Linked DNA regions of Homo sapiens: region 2 is linked to region 1. The links are contacts of gene promoters, found by promoter capture Hi-C in blood cells and fetal thymus (Javierre and others, 2016). All regions are on one chromosome and are shown on one strand. Each heading gives the region's core, a stretch centred on a gene start or on the middle of the fragment in contact. The rest is flanking DNA. Distances are from core to core; before and after follow the strand shown.

Evidence for each region. The method cuts DNA at HindIII sites, captures the fragments that hold promoters and counts their contacts. A CHiCAGO score of 5 or more calls a contact.
Region 2: a contact is called between a fragment that was not itself captured here and the fragment with the promoter of BTBD1 in region 1, in 1 of 17 cell types (naive CD8 T cells). The highest score is 5.7, in naive CD8 T cells.

What each region holds. Positions count from the first base shown.
Region 1 is chr15:83,063,982-83,069,940 of GRCh38, reverse strand. It overlaps BTBD1 (BTB domain containing 1), which reads left to right and starts at 2,689. Exons shown (of 8, transcript NM_025238.4): 1 at 2,689-3,190. The coding sequence starts at 2,790. It overlaps MIR4515 (microRNA 4515), which reads right to left and starts at 2,606; the gene lies at 2,526-2,606. RefSeq lists silencers at 556-605, 2,482-2,961, 3,202-3,371 and enhancers at 510-804, 2,242-2,291, 2,302-2,421. The HindIII fragment of the contact is 13,987 bases long and covers 1,941-5,959 here.
Region 2 is chr15:80,991,320-80,997,278 of GRCh38, reverse strand. No RefSeq gene overlaps it. Among named protein-coding and RNA genes, the nearest start is that of MIR4514, 3.2 kb to the left of the region's middle. The HindIII fragment of the contact is 7,858 bases long and covers 1-5,959 here.

The DNA.
Region 1 (5,959 bases), core at 1,440-3,939:
TAAAATGTTTAACCTGGAATCTAACCATGAATCATACAGAATCCACCAGACAAATCCAGATTGTGGAGCATTATACTCCACAATTCCCCGGACCTTCAAAGAAGTCAACACAGTCAATAATATGTGAACATTGATTTGATCCTGGATTGGAAAAAAAGTCATCTGTGAAAGATATTTTTGGCCAGGCACAGTGGCTCATGCCTGTAATCCCAGCACTTTGGGAGGCCAAGGTGGGCAGATCATAAGGTCAGTAGATTGAGACCATCCTGGCTAACACGGTGAAACCCCGTCTCTACTAATGACAGGTGAAGCCAACTGGACTTCTGGGTAGGGTGAGGACTTGAAGAACTTTTCTGTCTTACAAGTGGTTTGTAAAATGTGCCAGTCAGTGCTCTGTAAAAACACACCAATCAGCACTCTGTGGCTAGCTAGAGGTTTGTAAAATGGACCAATCAGCACTCTGTAAAGTGGACCAATCAGCACTCTGTAAAATGGACCAATCAGCATTCCGTAAAATGGACCAATCAGCACCCTGTAAAATAGACCAATCAGCACTCTGTAAAGTGCACCAATCAGCATTCTGTAAAATGGACCAATCAGCAGGACATGGGCGGGGACAAATAAGGAAGTAAAAGCTGACTCCACCCCCCCCACCCCCGCCGGCCCCTCCCCTCCTGCCCCCACGCCCAGAGACTGCAACCACCCGTTGGGGTTCCTTTCCATGACATAAGGGCTTTGTTCTTTTGCTCTTCAGAAGAAGTCTTTGGGTCCCTGCCATCTTAAGAGCTATAAAACTCATCAGGAAGGTCCACAGCTCCATTCTTGAAGTCAGCAAGACCACGAACCCACCAGAAGGAACGAACTCTGGACACACTAAAAATACAAAAAAAAAAAAAAATCAGCAGGCTTGGTGGCAGGTGCCTGTAGTCCCAGCTACTCGGGAGGCTGAGACAGGAGAATGGCGTGAACGTGGGAGGCAGAGCTTGCAGTGAGCGGAGATCATGCCACTGCCCTCCAGCCTGGGCAACAGAGCAAGACTCCGTCTCAAAAAAAAATTTTTTTAGAGACAAGTGGAGAAACAAATATTAACTGTACATTAAATATTATACATAGGACCAGGCCTGGTGGCTCATGCCTGTAATCCCAGCACTTTGGGAGGCCGAGGCGGGTAGATCACGAGGTCAGGACTTGGAGAGGAGCCTGGCCAATATGGTGAAACCCCGTCTCTACTAAAAATACAAATAATTAGCTGGATGTGGTGACACGCACCTGTAACCCCAGCTACTCGGGAGGCTGAGGAGGAGAATCGCTTGAGCCCGGAAGGCAGACTTCATGCCATTGCACTCCAGCTTTGGCAACAGAGCGAGACTCCGTCTCAAAAAAAAAAAAATCATATATAGATGATTTGATGATATGGTTAATTTTGTTAGGTGTGATAATGGTATCATTAGTAGCATGATGTCCCTTTGTCTTTAGGAATTGCCGGCTGGCAATGGGGAAGGGGTTGTGCATCCACTATTTCAGCCCCTACTACTTTAAGTCTCTTCCCAAGCACGTTCCTCTCCCAAAGAAGTTACCATTCTAAATGCCTAACAGCTGGAAGTCCCCTCTGGTGGTTTCACAAGTGGAGTGATTTTACAGGAGAAACCCAGGTTTGGGGTTTACTATTTACTTGACGGCATTTGTAATCTGTAAGGCTCTTCCTGCAAAGAACAGGTGTTTCCAACTATACGTGCCTGGTCAAGGACTATTTCTTGGGTTTTCTACGTTCTGCTTTTGACAGCTGACTTAACTCAGGGCCTGCCTCACTGAAGGGAGAAAAAGGAAGGCCTCGGTCCCCCAATCATGATGACCGGGTTGTAAATACTGCCTGGGAAGGGATAATACAGCCTTTTCCATTGTGTGTGTGTTTTAGTTTTTAATTTTTTAAATTTCAAGCTTAGGCAGTGGTTCAGTGCAAGGACTGAAAAGCGCTACAAGAGAAGGTGGGCAAGCACGAGGGGTTTCAAATACAGGGGTGGAAGCAGTAGAAGGAAATGTCTCTTAGGCCCAGAGGACGGAACCAAAGGGTCAATTAGAAGGGAAAGGGACCTGCGGACCTGGGGAGAGGTCACTGGGGTTCTAAGCCTTCCACCTCTGCTTCCGGAATTTCCACGGGTTTCGCGGCCTTCTGGAGCGGCGACTTGGCCACGCTTGGGGTACAGGGTTGTGGGAAGTCATGTCATCCCCTCCCTCACGTGTTCCCTTGGCCATACTTTCCTGCCCCTCCACTTCCAGGCAAAACACTCCTCGGGACAGGCCTTGGGACATGTCCCAGATACACAATGGGGGCGCTGGACTTGGTGATAAGGGGCCTGCAGGAAGAAAAAGGCAGCCGTGAGAGCCGCCTGCAGATCCACGATGCATCTTAAAATTACAAATTCTCAGGCCCTACCCCAGACCTACTGAGTCAGAATACCCAGGGCACTGAGCCAGGGGGTGGGTGCCCGTAGGCCCGGCAGCACCCAGCCTGCAGAAGCTCCACCTCCGGGAGCGCTGAGCTAGGACCAGCTCCCCACGCCCCTGCCCTGGGGCTGCCGGGAGTCCAGTCCTGTTACACCTCCCGCGGCCGCGCACAGCGGCAACCCGGGCGTGCGGGGGCGCGCGCGGTCAGGGAGGGGCCTGCGGAGGCGCGAGGCCCCCGGAAGCGCCTTTCCCGGAAGGCAGGGAGGCAGCGCCGGCCTCCGGAGGCGGCCTGGGCGATGGCGGCGGAGTTTTGTCCATAACGTGGGCAACCGCGCAGCTGGAGGATGGCCTCACTCGGGCCTGCCGCAGCTGGGGAGCAGGCGTCGGGGGCTGAGGCGGAGCCGGGCCCCGCGGGGCCGCCGCCGCCGCCCTCACCGTCCTCTCTGGGGCCCCTGCTCCCCCTGCAGCGGGAACCTCTCTACAACTGGCAGGCGACCAAGGCGTCGCTGAAGGAGCGCTTCGCCTTCCTCTTCAACTCGGAGCTGCTGAGCGATGTGCGCTTCGTACTGGGCAAGGGTCGCGGCGCCGCCGCCGCTGGGGGCCCGCAGCGCATCCCCGCCCACCGCTTCGTGCTGGCGGCCGGCAGCGCCGTCTTTGACGCCATGTTCAACGGCGGCATGGCCACCACGTCGGCCGAGATCGAGCTGCCGGACGTGGAGCCCGCAGCCTTCCTGGCGCTGCTGAGGTGAGCGGCAGCGCGGGCCGGGCCGGGCCGGGCCGGGCCGGGCCGGGCCGGGCTGGGAGATCCCCGGGGCCCGGCCTACCCGGACTCCCGGATGACCTTGGGCTGGGCTCTTCTGACCCGCCCGGGGCCTCAGTTTCCTCCCGAGCCGTTGATGCTCCGGAGGGTCGAAATCGAAATCTGTGAACCAGGACGGCTCAGTCGCCAACTAAACGTTAGTGTCTTCATTAGGCAAGCGTGCGTTTTACCATTGAAAGGCGTTTCGCATTCCAATTATGGATTGTCGCTCAGACTTCAGAATTAGACAAGTGGCAAGGATAGAGGGGCAGATCAGGTTGTCCTGATTGCCCATTTGCGAAGTTTTATGTTTTTGTTTGGGGGAAGAGAGTAGTTGAAAAATCTTGCAGGACTGATGTTTTGGGGTTATTGTCACCCCCTTCCCCCCGCTTTTTTTGAGACAAGGTCTTGCTCTGTTGCCCAGGCTGGAATGCTGTAGCGCGATCATGGCTCACTGCAGCCTCGACCTCTCCGGGCTCAGGTGATGCTCCGACCTCAGCCTCCCGAGTATTTGGGACTACAGGCACGCGCCACCACGCCCGGCTAATTTTTTTTATTTTTATTTTTGGTAGAGAGAGGGTTTCACTATGTTGCCCAGGCTGGTCTCGGACTCCTGGGGTCAAGCGATCCGTCCACCTCGGCCTCCCAAAGTGCTGGGATTACAGGCGTGAACCACCGCGCCTGGCCACTTTTTTGTTTTTGTTTTTGTTTTTCATTAACGTATTAGTTGTCAAGACCCAGGAAAGTAAATACGAAAACAGACAAGTGAGGCTTTACCTGCTTTGTGTTTCTACACACAAGGTCACATTTGCTTATAAATGAATCCCTCCCTTGATGTTAGAATTTGCTTGTTGGTTATTTGAGGATAGTAGATTGACATCTAATGAAAAGGTGATTGTTTGGCATTACTAGCTTTTAATCACAGCCATCCTGTTAGGGAGGCGTAAGAATTGTTTACCCCAATTTCACAAATGGGACTGAGGCCCAGAAGAGTCAAGTATCTTGCCCAAGGTAACAAACAGCTAACTCACACTGAAGACCATGTCTGTTTCATTATACTAAGATGGTTTTAAATAGCTGCCTGAGTAGAACGTGTTGTTATTAAAATGGCAGAGTCTTGGGTAGTACTGAAGCAAAAACAGGCAGGTCAGTGGGACAGAATTAGATACAAAGGTTCACAGTTGAATCAGAAAGATGAACAAGAAAATGAATGTAAAGTTCACACAACTAGAAACAAATAATAAGATTCCATTGACGAATGGATAAAGGACAGGATAGATAACTTAGAGAAAGAAAAAATACAACTAATTAACGAATGTTTTACCTGGCTGGTAATTAGGAAGTGCAAATTAAAAGACAGTGGTATTTTTTCCTTCCATTAATCCCACCAAAAAATTTAAAGGTAACATCTGAACAGCATTTTCTGACAAAGATGGTGGTAAAAACCCTTTTGGAAAACAGTTTGGTGCTATAGATTTTCTTTCCACACGTAAGAAGCATTCAAGTATTGCAAATTGCATACAAAAATATTTACAGCTTTATTTATAGTAGTGAGGAAGTAGTCAGCTGTAGGGAATGGTTAAACAGTGGTAGGTTCACTTGATGAGATATAATGCAGTCACTAAATATGACGGATAGCACTTGAAACTGCACCATGGTTACAACGTGAAAAGACATGGAACAAACATATACCTAGAGACCGGGATAAAAGGAAACATACCAAAATGCTAAGCAAAGTCACCTGGAGTAGTGAGATGAAAGTACCTTTTTTTCTTCTTTATTCTTTGTTTCTGATATTTTCTGTAATTTAGTTCAGTTACATTTATAAAGGGGGGGGACCTCAAAAGCTAAAATCCAGGTCATTTTAGTTTAAAGTTCACCAGGAGGATTGGGTATAGTTCATTTGGATTTTCTAGACTAGAAGTAGTTTTCAAAATGATCTGTGGGCCGTCTGCATTATAATCTTCTGGGGTGCTTATGAAATGTGTAGATCTCATCCTCATTATATACCGTAATATTTGGAGGTGAGACCTTGGTAGCATTTTTAACACTCTCCCTAAGTGATACTTATACAAACTAAATTTAAGAACCACAAATCTAAAACTATTTTGGGGCAATTTTTTACTTTGAAAAAATATTGAGATTACTAGGATAAGAATGTAGAGGAAAAATACATATTTTAATATTTTCACCGAAGCTGCTAATTAGTGCTTTCCCATCAATAGAAAGTAAGTTAATTTTAGAGTGTTTGAAATGTAGGACAGTGCAATTTTTTTTTTCACATTGTAAAACATTTTTTACATTTTTAAACTTTTTTTTCATTTTTACATTTTCAGTGTGTTTTATTTTCCTAGCATTGTATTTATCCTTCAGGTTCTGGTCATTGTTCTATTTTGAAATTGATATCTGGACTGATTTCTAAATTTAATTTTGGCTGGCTGTGTAACGTAGATGTTGTTGTTAGCTAATACGTGACAAAAAGATGCCTGATAGTACTTGCTAAGTTGGAAGAGCAGGTTAGTTTGGGCATACTTGTAAACATCCTGAATTAGTTAACATTACTTACAGGCTCATGAACTTAAGTTTGAAGCCCTTAAAGAAACTGTGCACTTTGAACTGCCTGACCTTTAAATGATGTTCTTCAGTTGTTTGACAAATACTATATGCCTCCCTTTTGGGGCGCTTGTGAAACAGCGAATGGCTGTTGTAGGTGTT
Region 2 (5,959 bases), core at 1,651-4,150, 2.1 Mb after region 1:
CTCCAGAAATGTTTAATCTTGCCCAACTGAAACTCCATACCCATTAAGTAACTGCTCCCCACTCCCCCTTCCTCCAGTCCCTGGCAACCACCATTCTACTTTCTCTATGAATTTGACTACCCTAGGTACCTCATGTTAGTGGAACCATACAATATTTGTTATTTTGTGCCTGGCTTATTTCACTTAACATAATATCTTTTTTTTTTTTTTTTTTTTTTTTGAGACGAGGTCCGGCTCTGTCTCCCAGGCTAGAGCACAGTGGCGCGATCTCGGCTCACTGCAAGCTCCGCCTCTCGGGTTCATGCCATTCTCCTGCCTCAGCCTCCCGAGTAGCTGGGACTGCAGGCACCCACCACCACACGCAGCTAATTTTTTTTTGTATTTTTAGTAGAGACGGGGTTTCACTGTGTTAGCCAGGATGGTCTCGATCTCCTGACCTCGTGATGCGCCTGCCTTGGCCTCCCAAAGTGCTGGGATTACAGGCATGAGCCACGTGCCCAGCCTTAACATAATGTCTTTAAGATTCATTGATATTATAGCATACATGGGAATTTCCCTTCTTTTTTATGGGTGAACGGTATTCCATTGTAAGCACTCCGGATCTTTTCATTCTATCAAAAATTTATTTATTTATTTATTTAGTAGCGAGAAAGTCTCAGAGACACAGTCTCACTTTGATATCCAGACTGGTCTCACACCCTTGGCCTCAAGTGGTCCTCTCACCTTAGCCTCCCAAAGTGCTGAGATTACAGGTGTGAGCCTGTCTGGCCACTCTGGGTTTTGATACCCAACTTTCACACTACCCCACACTTTACAGACCAACAACCATGCTGTGTTTGGTCTGTAGTGCCACCTGTTGGTCAGTAAGAGGCATTCTCTGCCCTAATTATTTTTCCCTTTGGAGCAATGTCCCTCTGTTTTGCTTTTGTGCACACAGATGGGCCAATTACATCTCAGGCTATCTTTCTTATACATATGCATTATTTCCCTTTCACTATCTGTTGTAAAAGAGAGGAATTTATATCTCTCCTTCTTTTCCCCAGATTCCTTCATTGTCATAGGTGATGCATGACAACAGCCCCTGGTTCACCAGGGAGCAAGATCACTGTCTAACACCTCGCTCTCCTTACCTGGCATGTCCTCTTGCTCTCTGGCATATTTTGTTCCCATCCAGTAAGAACACCTGGGCAGTACCTCACACATCACTCCCATTTCCTCCCCAGCCCCACTTTCCACCCTCCCTTCCTCCCTCCATGCTTTCTCTCTGTTCACCTGCAGCTGGGTGTGTGAGGGAGCCCTGTGTGCTGGACCAGTTATACCTTGGCAGGCACACCTGAGCATGCAGGTCCTGAAGTCTAGGAGAGCTGGAATTTTCTGCATTAGTTTACCAGAGCACCCTCCATGGAGGCAAAGTTTGCTTGCACAGATTAATAAATTCTGTACCCCATTCATTTACTGGCCAGCCATCTTTGGATGTATTTTCTATTTTCCAGCATCCTGAAGAAGAGAAAAAACAAGTGCTAAGTTTCAGGCACCCTGGTCTTAACACTAATCATGCCTGACCAAGTTTTGACATCTCTCATGGTGCCTAGTAGTCAGTAACTACAGAGTGATTAGATGTATTGGTGCCTCACAAGGAGGTTCCCTGATCTTTCAGACAGACCCAGGTATTTCTTCCCCCCCTTGTAGCTACTATGATGCCTGCTCAGCTTCAGAGTGGCGTCAAGTACTTGTAACTGTTGGTGTAACTCTCTCCACAACCCTATCATCTCTGTAAGGGCAGGGACTTGATCTATGCATCTTTCCCCCACATTTAATGTATTCAGTGTTTATGGCATTAATAAGTTAATGAATTATTTTATCTGTTAAGTCTCTGTGCAAGAAAGGTGCCCTTTTATTGAACCAAACTCTGGCTGCTCACAACTTTTATTCAGTAACGGACAGAAAGTCATGGATATTCATGAAACAACAGCAGGGGTACAGTCTAGGTCTGGTCATGACCTAACAGCTCACAACTCTTAAGATTGAAGGGGAGGCCTGAGGCCTGTTTGCTTAGCAAGTGTGTTCACCTCATTTTTCTTACAGCTTGTTTGAGATAGTCCAGGGAGGTGATTCTTTGGAAACAGACTGAATTTTCTGAACATAACTGCATATATCTGTGCTGCAAAGTACATGTAATTTTTTCAGATGACACAGATAAAAGTCCTGCCTTCTTCAGAGATTCAGATCTCATCCCCAAATTTTCAAGGCCATTGCACTATTGTAGATAATTTGAATTACATGTATTATTCTGATAATTTCCATTGAAATTAGACTTTTCACCCTTACATATTGGTGGAAAGAAGGGTATCAATTCACATTTTGTAAGCAGCAGTGTGTTTATGTGTGTCTCTCCTTTTAAAGCACAAGTGGGCCAGGCGCGGCAGTTCCCGCCTATAATTCCAGCACTCTGGCAGGGCGAGGTGGATGGATCACTTGTGCCCAAAAGTTCTAGACCAGCTTGGGCAACATGGTGAAAACCCATCCTTTAAAAAAAAAAAAATGCACTTTGGGAGGCCAAGGCGGGTGGATCACGAGGTTAGGAGTTCAAGACCAGCCTGGCCAACATGGTGAAACCCCTGTCTCTACTAAAAATACAAAAATTAGCCGGACATGGTGGCATGTGCCTGTAATCCCAGCTACTCAGGAGGCTGAGGCAGGACAATTGCTTGAACTGGGGCCCGGGAGGCAGAGGTTGCAGTGAGCTGAGATCGCACCACTGCACTCCAGCCTGGGCTACACAGTGCAACTCTGTCTCAAAAAAGAAAAAAAAATGCAAAAATTAGCCAGGTGTGGTATGGGAGGCTGAGGCGGGAGGATCCCTTGAGCCTGAGAGGTGGAGGTTGCAGAGAGCCAATATCTGGCCGCTGCACTCCAGTCTGGGTGACAGAGCAAGACCCTGTCTCAAAAAAACAAACAAACAAAAACAACACACCACCACTGACGTATGTTAGATGTGAAGAAAAATAGAAAATACAGAGAAAAGGTTAAAATATTTTGGAATCTCACTGCTTAGAGACAGCCATCGTATACATATTTGCAGCTCTTTTCCTATACATAGATATATATCTGTATAATTTTAATAGCATTTAAAATCATATAGTATAAAATGAATATCTTTAGTAGCAACAAATATATATATTTGATTGCATATTATCCATCATATGTGTGGAATACAGCTTGCAACTGTAAATGTAGATTTTATAGTCTACAATTTTTGAAACACTTAGAGTTGTTCTCATTTTCCCCACTCATGGAGAGTGTTATAGGATTGTTACATTGGGTAAGTGAAGAAATACACGGAAAGCACTCAGCAGAATGCCTGTCGAATAGTAAGTGCTCAATATTAACATTACTATTATTTTCATTGTCTGTTTCCTCAGAGTCAAGTTCTTGGAAGTAGACTTGCTAATCATATTATGCACTTTTTTGTGGGGAGGGGGAGTTGATACATTTCACCTAATTTTCAAGCAGAAAACTCCATCCCCCGAGAAGTGAGTGAGAAGACTTCTTTCCTTAGCCTTGTCAACAGTGTATACTGTCTGTATTTTTATCCAGGATCAACTGATAATTTAAAAATTATAACATGTTTGAATTTGCATTTTTTGATATTAGAGAGATTCTGTGTTTTGTTTTGTTTTTGCCACATGTGAACTGGCCATTTATATTTATTCTTTTGGGAATTACCTATTCATGTCCTAGACCGTTTTTCATTTGGTTGTTCATCTTTTTCTTATTGATTTATAAGTTGTTTTTTTTTTTTGGAGACAGAGTGTTACTCTGTCACCCAGGCTAGAGTGCAGTGGCACAACCTCGGCTCACTGCCACCTCTGCCTCCCGGGTTCAAGCAATTCTCCTGCCTCAGCCTCCCGAGTAGCTGGGATTACAGGTGCATGCCACCACACCCAGCTAATTTTTGTATTTTTAGTAGAGACGGGGTTTCACCATCTTGGCCAGGCTGGTCTCAAACTCCTGACCTCAGGCGATCTGCCCGCCTCAGCCTCCCAAAGTGCTGGGATTATAGGCATGAGCCACCATGCCCAGCCAGGAAAACACAATTTTAATTATTATGTTTAACTCTGTGAGTATGCTCTTCTGCCCAAAAATAATGGTGGTGACCAGGAATGGACACCTGCCTCAGACTGGGCCAGTCACATTCTCTACTGAAAATCTGAAATTCCAACAAAAGGCAACGAGTTAGTTGCTACCAATATTTAGCAACTACAATGAATGATTCGTGTCTATGTAATTAAATTTTTTAAGTGAGTAAATTTAGGGGCTGGTAAAACCCAGGAAGTATGCAGTACGTCTATTCTTACATTGGATTAAAAAGCAACAAAAGTGCAAAATGGTAAATACTCATTACCTCTCTCAGCCCATCCCCAGGCCTCTCCTCCTATGCCTTCCCATGAGTCAGTCATTAGAGGGTTAATGTTTGGCACAATGGTGACTGTACCCATCAGCTCATCTGCCTCAGTTCTGATTAACTGGTAATTGTGCTACTCCAGTTTTTCAACATTTTGAATATTACCCCCGCCTGCTTCCAAATAGTACTAGAAAGTCTTGCTTCACCCTCCTCTGTTGTGGAATGATGCATGCCAGGATGAGCTCAGGTTAAGACACTAATTAGATCTGAGATTCAACTTTACCATCCACAGTCACTGAATCACTTAGAGGTGGGGTTAGTATTAACCCCAGAGCACTGAAGAGACTTGTGGCTTCACTTAGGCCATGAGCACACAATCTTTCACATCTGTCCTCTCCAGTCTACACTGCACCACCTGGTACCTGGCACAGACTCTTGTCCCATCTGAGTGCTCCTCGCTCCAGACTTTTCAATGCATTTTCCATTTGGCTCCCAATTTAACCATCCTGAGTGCCTCACTGATTAACCTAGATGGTGCTGTGGCGGAAGAAGGACTCCAAGAAGACTGGACCTTGTTATCCAGTACACCTCGGCTTAGATTCTTGCCTTGCCGCTGCACTAGCTGTGCAGCCTCAGACAAATTGTGTAATTGTAAAACCAGGATTTCCTCTTATTTAAATTGGAGAGATTATCATCATCATCACATCATCCCTTTGGGCCCGGATCTCCTGTAATCTGCATGAAATTTACTGCATATTGTTTATCTGCTCTGCCAGAGTAAGGATATTGTTATATTCATTTTTGCATCAGTGCCTCACCTGATTCTTGGTTAACAATAGGTCTTTGGTAAATAAAATTCCCCCCAAGTTGAATGGAATCAAGTTCCAAACACTAAAGTAAGTTTCAAATATCCAAATGTTGAAAATGCAATTGATCCAGATGTTTTCATATCAGTGGATTATATGCCGAATTGATTTCCTCCTTAGAGGAAAGTCAGTAGCCCTGAAACTTTCTACACATTCCCAACAATTTCTGTAAAACTTTCAATGATCTTATTCTCTATAACTAGATATGTGGGCCAAGAATCCCAACACGTTTGCCCCTTAACTTTGAAGCTGGCAATATGAATTACCAGGGTGACCCCTCCCAGTAGAGCACATGATCAGCCACAGCTGTGCATGTTTTTTAGTATGACTGCACTAGGATAGGGCTCCAAGCCACTGGGTGGAGCAATGTGCTCTGGGGAGAAAGCTCATGACATTTCCCCTATGATTTCACAAAAGAAAAAATCTTTTTCTTATGAGTTGTTTCTGCTCAACGTCAATAGGAAAGGTCATAGCTTAGCGTGTTTACATACAGATGCATGCATGAATATGTAGAATATCAGCCACTCCTACGGTGTGAGAGAATTTAAATTGCACTGGTCCTAAGAGTGAAGGAAAGCAGGCGTAGTTGCCTACTCAACCTCCACTTTATTCTTTTCCCTTTATAACAATCCTAATTTCATTTGAGATGACAATGTATACAGCTAGAAGACAATTTCTCAGCCTCCCT